3 separate regions of the Homo sapiens genome follow, and regions 1 and 3 are each linked to region 2. Evidence: promoter capture Hi-C in 16 types of primary human blood cells and fetal thymus (Javierre and others, 2016). All regions are on one chromosome and are shown on one strand. Each heading gives the region's core, a stretch centred on a gene start or on the middle of the fragment in contact. The rest is flanking DNA. Distances are from core to core; before and after follow the strand shown.

Region 1 (2,700 bases), core at 93-2,592, 3.1 Mb before region 2:
CATGGTGAAACCTTAACTCTACAAAAAATACAATTTTAGTCAGGAGTGTTAGTGCACATCTCTAGAACCAGCTACTCAGGAGACTGAGGTGGGAGCGTGGTAGTGCACACCTTTAGTCTCAGCTACTGAGAGGCTGAGGTGGGAGGGTGGCTTGAGCCTGGCAAGCAGAGGGTGCAGTGGGAGGCAGAGGGTACAATCGGAGGCAGAGGGTGCAGTGAGTACAGACTGCACCACTGAACTCCAGCCTGGGTGACAGAGCCAGACCCTGTCTTTAAAAAAAAAGAAAAAGAAATAGTAGCTGCTTATTTTATTAATGTTTTACTAAATGCCTCAAATCATATCTATATCCCAGGAAGTTGGGCCACTGAAGGTAGAGAAGTTGGAGTTGGAGGAAGACAAAGATCAGCATCAAGAATCATTTCATAGTAATATTGTTAATTTATCTTTGTTTAAAGGCACTTAAAAGTCATAGGTGAACATAATAAAATAATGCTAACGAGCAACTTCAGAACTTTTCTTTTATTCCAGTTCCAAATGTTGTGTATCACTGGTGAGTGTGGACATCTCTGAAATGTTGTGATACCTGATCAACTAAATCAAAGATCAAAAGTAGGGAATATGGCTCAAGGATGTTAGTTAAAAAAATTTAAAAAATAGGGGAGCAACAATATACTTATCAGTAACTTACAACATTTTCATAACTATAGAGTAATCCTCTATTAACCAAGGGGCCTAAAAAGTGTTAGAACTTAACCAGTGGAATTAGGAGGAAGAAAGTTTAAAATGACTGTATCTTAGTAAATAAAATTTCTTACAGATATCTGCTTTTAAATAAAACCAGACTTACAGGTATTAAAAAAAATCTGTTCTCCTTAATCATTTTCTTCAATCTTTTAGGAAACTATTGCTGAGAAGTGATCTGATGAGCAAATTTTCTCATCAGTTTTACGTTAGAGTCTTCACTTCTTAAAGTTCTTGAATCAGCTACGTCCTTCTTAAAATTTAACCTATTTTTTATTGGAATTTTCCCATGTTTTGCCTTGTTACATTTTTTAAAAATGTGTGTGTGACTTTCCAACATTTCTATAAATTACTTCAGGGCTGTTCTCTAGATTATTTTTGTAAATAAAGTGACAAGAGTAACCAGTGTGATGTTTTTAGATTTTTTTTTTTAAATAAATATTTTTTAAGAGACACGGTCTTGGGCCGGGCATGGTGGCTCATGCCTGTAATCCTAGCACTTTGGGAGGCCGAGGCAGCTGGATCATTTGAGGTCAGGAGTTCAAGAATGGCCTGGTGAACATGGTGAAACCCCGTCTCTACTAAAAATACAAAAAATTAGCTAGGCGTGGTGGCACGCGCCTGTAATCCCAGCTACTTGTGAGGCCGAGGCTGGAGAATTGCTGGAGCCCAGGAGGCGGAGATTGTAGTGAGCTGAGATCGCGCCATTGCACTCAAGCCTGGGTGACACAGCTAGACTCCGTCTCAAAAAAAAAAAAAAAAAAGGGACAGGGTCTTGCTCTGTCACCCAGGATGGAGTCCAGTGGCATGACCATAGCTCACGACAGCCTCGAACTCCTGGGCTCAAGTGATCCTCCTGCCTCAGTCTTCCGAGGGGCTAGAACTACAGGTGTTCACCACCATACCCCAACTAATTTATGTTTTTGTAGAGACAGGGTCTTCCAGTGTTGCCCAGGTGGTCTCAAACTCCTGGCTTTAAGTGATCCTCCCATCTCCTCTCAAGTAGCTGAGATCACAGGTGCGAACTACCATGTCCATGTTTTTATATTTAAAGGTGCTAAGTTGTCCTTACATATTAGGGACCACGGATTTAAACCTTTTGCTAAACAAACATATAAATGCTTTCATTTCAAAACCAGTAAAACCACAGCTGGCAAGAGATTATAGTATCTTAATATCTTAAAGTCAAATGAAGAGACAGTCTCAAAAACAAAGGGTGTTCCAGAGGAGTAAGTGACACAAATATTTCAATGAGGATAAAGTTGAAAATATACTCCCTTGGCAATTAAAAGGTCATCTGGATCTGGTCACACATCCTCTACACTCTTTCCCCTCAGATTATATTCCTTACTACCTTCTGATGCTAGTACAGTAACTCATCTATCCATAAGGTATACAATGTTTATCAACTATGTAGTCCCTGGTGACAAGCAGTTGCACTGGCACCAGTTAAGTACTATCAAATAGAAAAGATGGAGTAAGAGGAGAGAGTAGGGATGGGACTGTAAGTGGAATACGTTAGTTTTCGCCCGCTTGGATTTATATGAATACATGAAATTCTACTGCATTACTATTTTTCTAACTGGGATTCAATATACAGAGTACATACAGTGCATCACCTAGAAATATTAATTTATGGGTACATTTATATTCATATCTACATATGCTTGACATATGTAAAGCTCTTTGATTTGCTCAGGAAAGCATAAACCAATAAAATGCTGTCTTTTCATTCTTTGGCTGAACTTGTAATTACTTACCTCTGCACTCTTCATAGCTTTAAGAATATTCCCCACTGTATCAGTAAAGGTGTTACCCAGTATTCTACCCAACTTCTTGTACAAGGAACCCAAACATACCACAGCAGCACTGAAACAACATTTAAATTAGAAATTAGTCACAGCTGAAAAAATAGGAATAAAAAGATCTTAGGATATGTAAGGATAACTGTTGAAAAAT
Region 2 (2,700 bases), core at 109-2,608:
CACTCCAGCCTGGCTGACAGAGTGAGACTCTGTCTCAAAATAAATAAATAAATAAATAAATAATTGAGACATACATATATACATACCTCCTTTCACAGACAGGACCCATTAACTGAAACTCTTTTTCACAGGGAATCCTGGTATCTATCCTCACTCCCAACAAAAGAAATCTTAACAGCAGTCTGATTTCCCATGCATCCAATGTCTCCCCATGACAATATGAGGAAACATTGTTCTTTTGATTTTTTTTTTTTTTAAGAAATGAGGTCTCACTATGTTGCCCAGGCTGTTCCTTTACTACCAGGCTTAAGAGATTCTCTCGCCTCAGACTCCCAAAGTCCTGGGATTACAGGCATGGGCCACCACACCCAGCCAAAGTTGTTAATGAAAGCATGGCTTTACAGAAAGCTTCTTTAGGCAGAATGAATGTTTTAAAGTTTAAGAATAGGATCTGCTGACAGCTTAAGAAATAACTAAATTTGTGTGGAAATATCTCGGCAAAACAGCTTCAAGTTTCCCTGGTAGAATAAAGCCCACCCTTCTGGAAATCCCACGAACCTTCTTCTGTGCCTATCTCAGGTCAATATTCTCTACAATGCTCTGCCAAGAAATATATACTTTATCTTATTACCCTTATTATACTATAAGCCTCTGGAAGACAAGGACCTTATGATTTATCTCTGTAGCTCAGAGCGAGCATACAACAGTCCCTGTCAAAAAATAAAAATAAAAAAGGCTGTTCAATATTCCCTTATTTCTGTTTATGGCAGTTTAGTCTTCAAGATGGACACTTCACATTAAGTCCTGTGAGCCTCACAACAAACATAGTGTGTTATACTATGTTATATAGGTTATACAATTATGTTATTATAGTTCAATTTTACAGGTGAGTAATCGAGGATAACTGACTTGCCTTCCGTCACTCTGCTACTAAGGTGTAGAGACAGGTTTCGATCTCATTGCTTTTGAAGATTTACACGCGGTCCCCCGTGATTCCGGAATATCCCTCTTCCTACAGGCGACATCGGCACCGCCTCCCCCCGGGACTGCGCGACCCCATCAGGAAAGCCCTTTGGCTTCGCACAAGTAACAGGCACGACAGGCTCCCGAGCCGCTAGGGTCTGCGTAGGCTCGGCAGGCGCAACGAATGGAGGCGACCAAAGCCAGGCCTCGACCCAAATCCTCGGGGGCCAGGGTGGGGCGGGAGCCCACCTGCTCAAAGCCGGCTCCTCGTCGCTAGGCTCTTCAACCGCGTAGGGGTCGTAGTCATCCGGAAGCCGGTTCATGGTGGCCTGCAGCGGCCTACACCGTCCACAAGCAATTTGCAGCGTCTCTGTTTACACTGCAAGTCCAGTCCCTAAAGCGCCCCTGACGCCACTTCCGCCTGAACGTCCCAGTCCCCCTTGCGCGCCCGCGCAGACCGACAGCACCGAGGGAGGCAGGTAGAAGGCGGGGAAGGGGCGGAGCAGGAGCGAAAAGGGGCGGGGACGGGACGGGGGCGGGTCTTAATCCCACCATTTTTGTTTTGTTTTGTTTTTTGGAGACGGAGTTTCGCTCTTGTTGCCCAGGCTGGAGTGCAATGGCGCGATCTCGGCTCACCGCAACCTCCGCCTCCCAGGTTCAAGCAATTCTCCTACCGCAGCCTCCCGAGTAGCTGGGATTACAGGCATACACCACCACGCCCGGCTAATTTTGTATTTTTAGTAGAGACGGGGGTTTCTCCATGTTGAGGCTGGTCTCGAACTCCGGACCTCAGGTGATCCGCCCACCTCGACCTTCCAAAATGCTGGGATTACAGGCGTGAGCCACCGCTCCCGGCCAATCCCACCATTTTCTTCCGCAGCTTCTGCTTACAGGAAAATAGCAGCTACCTTGTCACCAAAAATAATAATGATGGGCACCCTCATAAGTGACAGTCTCTGAGGTGAACATGCTACATGCAGCGTCTCATCACCTACGAAGCAGGAATCTAGACGCTGAGGGACACACAGCCCGAAATCCAATAAGTCCTCAGACACCAGCACCCACATCCCTCCAACCTCGCCTCTAACCCTTATGCCTTCCACACCATGAGGCTCTCAACCTCTCCTTCACACTGTTCACTCCTCAGTCTGACTGCGGCCTCAACAATCTACGAAAAGTTATCTTTTCTCGTCATCTTCCCAGTCCCCACTTTTGCTCAGCCCTCAACTGATCCCACTCGATACCTGAGGAGAACAGGCAGATGACAGCCACTTGAGCTCCATCGGGAGACTGTTTCTAACCCTGTTTCTGAACCAGGAACTCGGGTTCCTGCCTCCTACCGAGACACTGTGGCACTCTCTAAAATGTGGAGTAGCTGTAATAAATCTACTCCTGTATTATGCTTTACAGTGCAGGTCTTAGTTTTTCTTTTTTCTCATTTCTTTTGAAATGGCATCTCGAACAAAGTCCACCAATCCCTTTACAAAAGAATGAACTGCTCCTCTGTGTGTACTTCATAGAAGGTGGAATCGGACAGAAGCAGGTTAGTGACAGTTATTCCTGAAATACAGGAGCAGAGTACAGTCTGTTGTGGTTTCCCGGATTCCGCGCCTAGCTCAGCCAATTAAGCATGAGACATAGGCCATTGAGCCACTTAGTAGTTATGCGAGTGGATAGATTGGTATGTAGAGGGAAAGAGGTCTGCTGTAAAGAACAACACTTGTTTGTCTGTGGGGA
Region 3 (2,700 bases), core at 198-2,697, 3.4 Mb before region 2:
GAAATGTTTAAAATTCTTCCTTTTATTTCCCTTATTTCTGAACTATTCAGTCTATGACATTTAAAAGCAATGTAAGGGTCATGTTTAAATCTACTGGGTTATATTTCATTTTTAAAATTATTTGATTTTTAGAGATGAGGTCTTGCGTTGCCCATGCTAATCTTGAACTCCTGGGCTTAAACGATCCTCCCACCTCAGCCTCTGGAGTAGCTGGGATTATAGATGTGAGCCACTGCACCTGGCTTGGTTACTTCTTAAATGGAAGAACTGTTTAAGAAATTTTAAAAGATTGATATACATGGTAAAATACTGCCACTTCAGCAAGTAAACAGAATCTAGGTAAAAGTTTTAAAACTGCTAAATATAATTATGTGTAGTCAAATTTTTTTTCTACAAAAACATGCCAGCTTACCATTAATTTCTTACAATTTGGGCTAACCTCTCAAAATATTCATATATTGCCATAGAAATTTTAGTCACTAGTTCAAATAAAACACTAAAGTTAGCATTTCGGTTGTGTTCTCAAAGTTCAGTGGTTCCTTGGTTCTCTTATATTAAATAATTAAGTTCAATAAATTTGAATAAACACAGAAAATTCTAAAAAAAAATTTAAAGAGCATACTGAACTCTTTTATTAGAACTATCTGCTAAAGCTAATAACATGTACAGAATTAACGAGCATAATGATATTCAATCTATATATTTACTTGTAGTAGAAAAATGATATTCTTTTTTTAAAAAGGTAATTAACTTCCAAAAGCAAAAAAAAAATTGTCTATTAAAAGCAAATTAATAGAAATTTTACAATCTTATTTTAGTGTTATAAGCTAACTATTTCAGGGAAAAACATAAGACATAAAAAACATTTTTTTAGAAGTATAACAAGCCTTTATAAAGTTCTTACCCATACATAAAAGGGGCCCAAGATCACATACACACCCATCCACACACCCAGATGCTCACCCACACTTACACCAAGTTCATATGTTTATGATAGCACTCAGAGGGAAATAATATTGAATTACCTGTGGGGATTATCTGCATATGTGTTCTTTGAAAGGAAAAGTGACTGCCCCAAATCTACATAAGTAGCTTAGATGAGATTTTTCAATTGCCTCTATTTTTTTCTGTATGCTGAAATAATCTCTGAAGAACCAACATTTAACTATCTCTTCTGCTACACAGAAATGTGTGAGAAAAGGAAAAGTTTCAAAAACATAGCCCAATCTCAAATAAAAGTAACTTTTGTATTATATTAATTGGCCCAAAAAACATACTCTCTCAACTCCTTCTACACCCAAAAGATAAACCAAAAAAAAAAAAAAATAGAGTCAGTAATGACTATCCATCATTAGAAATGGTTGGTTTAAGTATTTGAAAGCTAAGAACCCTCTCTGACATAGAGACTCAAAGGCATAACTTGATGGGAATGGCCATGTTGATTAGGCAAAACTAAATTTCTACATTTGTCAGATTAGCAAAAATAGGCCTTTCTTGAACGCTAAACTCTGAGATTTCTAGGCTAGGTGATTTTTTTTTTTCCCATCTGTGGCAGCTAAAACGAACAAACAAACAAAAAACACTCAAAATATTCAGATGTACATGTTAGCACTCTCTCATAGGGAGGTGCCATACCTCACGGTTCAAATATATTTTATAGATCAGTAACATTATTATACTGACATGTAATTGCAACTTACTATGCAGCAAAAATGAATCGAGAAGAAAAATAACCCACAGTGTCTATTTACCTTTGTATAGGCAATTGCTTAAGTTACTCTGCTTTTAACATTTGTACTTCAATAAAATGCTTATGTATGTATAGGAATGTCACAGTGCAAGATGCTGCTAGTACAGGCACAAAGTATTAAAATTATTTTTTGAAGACTGGTGGTTGTATTAAAACTGTTGTGCCATTGTATCTTGGGAAAAAAAAAAAGATTCTAATTTCCCTATGCAATTGCTTCAGTTGACTCCATCCTGAGAAAAAAGAACTGCATTCACACATCTCTAACTAGCCTCTTCTTATCAAGTCACATACATCAAGGCCAAAACAATTACAGGAAATAGAATAACAACTTTTTAATAAGTATCATCAAGATGCCTAAAAAGAAAACTTGAAATTTTCTGAGTTGAATGGCACTACTATTCAACTCAGTATAACAATAATAGTTGATATCTCAACTATTACTGGTATTTATGAATTTTAGGTCGCTGTAAACCTGTTTTGATTACAATGATTTGCAATTAGGGCATGATACTACATAAATACATTTGGCAGTAAAATAATTCAAGGAATAGAATCTTAAAAGCAATATAGTCAAAGGGTTTATTTGAATAAATAAATGTCTTTACCACATAAAACATGAAATTAAATGTCAGTCATTCTCGTAAGTACCGTCACATTTATTCTAGCTCTTTAAATATGTGGTGTAAGTTGCCGCGTGCGGTGGCTCACGCCTGTAATCCCAGCTCTTTGGGAGGCCGAGGTGGGTGGATCACCTGAGGTCGGGAGTTCAAGACCAGCCTGACCAACATGGAGAAACCCCGTCTCTACTAAAAATACAAAATTAGCCAGGCATGGTGGCCCATGCCTATAATCCTAGCTAGTCAGGAGGCTGAGACAGTAGAATCGCTTGAACCTGGGAAGCAGAGGTTGCAGTGAGCTGATATTGCGCCATTGCACTCCAGCCTGGGCAA

Evidence for each region. The method cuts DNA at HindIII sites, captures the fragments that hold promoters and counts their contacts. A CHiCAGO score of 5 or more calls a contact.
Region 1: a contact is called between a fragment that was not itself captured here and the fragment with the promoter of EAPP in region 2, in 1 of 17 cell types (M1 macrophages). The highest score is 6.0, in M1 macrophages.
Region 3: a contact is called between a fragment that was not itself captured here and the fragment with the promoter of EAPP in region 2, in 1 of 17 cell types (M0 macrophages). The highest score is 5.0, in M0 macrophages.

The regions. Positions count from the first base shown.
Region 1 is chr14:31,396,172-31,398,871 of GRCh38, forward strand. HEATR5A (HEAT repeat containing 5A) reads right to left here. Exons shown (of 36, transcript NM_015473.4): 4 at 2,502-2,610. Among named protein-coding and RNA genes, the nearest start is that of HEATR5A, 23 kb to the right of the region's middle. The HindIII fragment of the contact is 3,802 bases long and covers 1-2,700 here.
Region 2 is chr14:34,538,343-34,541,042 of GRCh38, forward strand. It overlaps EAPP (E2F associated phosphoprotein), which reads right to left and starts at 1,359. Exons shown (of 6, transcript NM_018453.4): 1 at 1,213-1,359. The coding sequence starts at 1,286. It overlaps LOC105370447 (a long non-coding RNA gene), which reads left to right and starts at 1,407. Exons shown (of 2, transcript XR_943739.1): 1 at 1,407-1,442; 2 at 1,844-2,700. RefSeq lists enhancers at 562-1,486, 1,137-1,296 and a silencer at 1,437-1,536. The HindIII fragment of the contact is 15,759 bases long and covers 407-2,700 here.
Region 3 is chr14:31,129,718-31,132,417 of GRCh38, forward strand. The region is part of intron 24 of HECTD1 (HECT domain E3 ubiquitin protein ligase 1); the gene reads right to left. Among named protein-coding and RNA genes, the nearest start is that of HECTD1, 77 kb to the right of the region's middle. The HindIII fragment of the contact is 3,591 bases long and covers 1-2,700 here.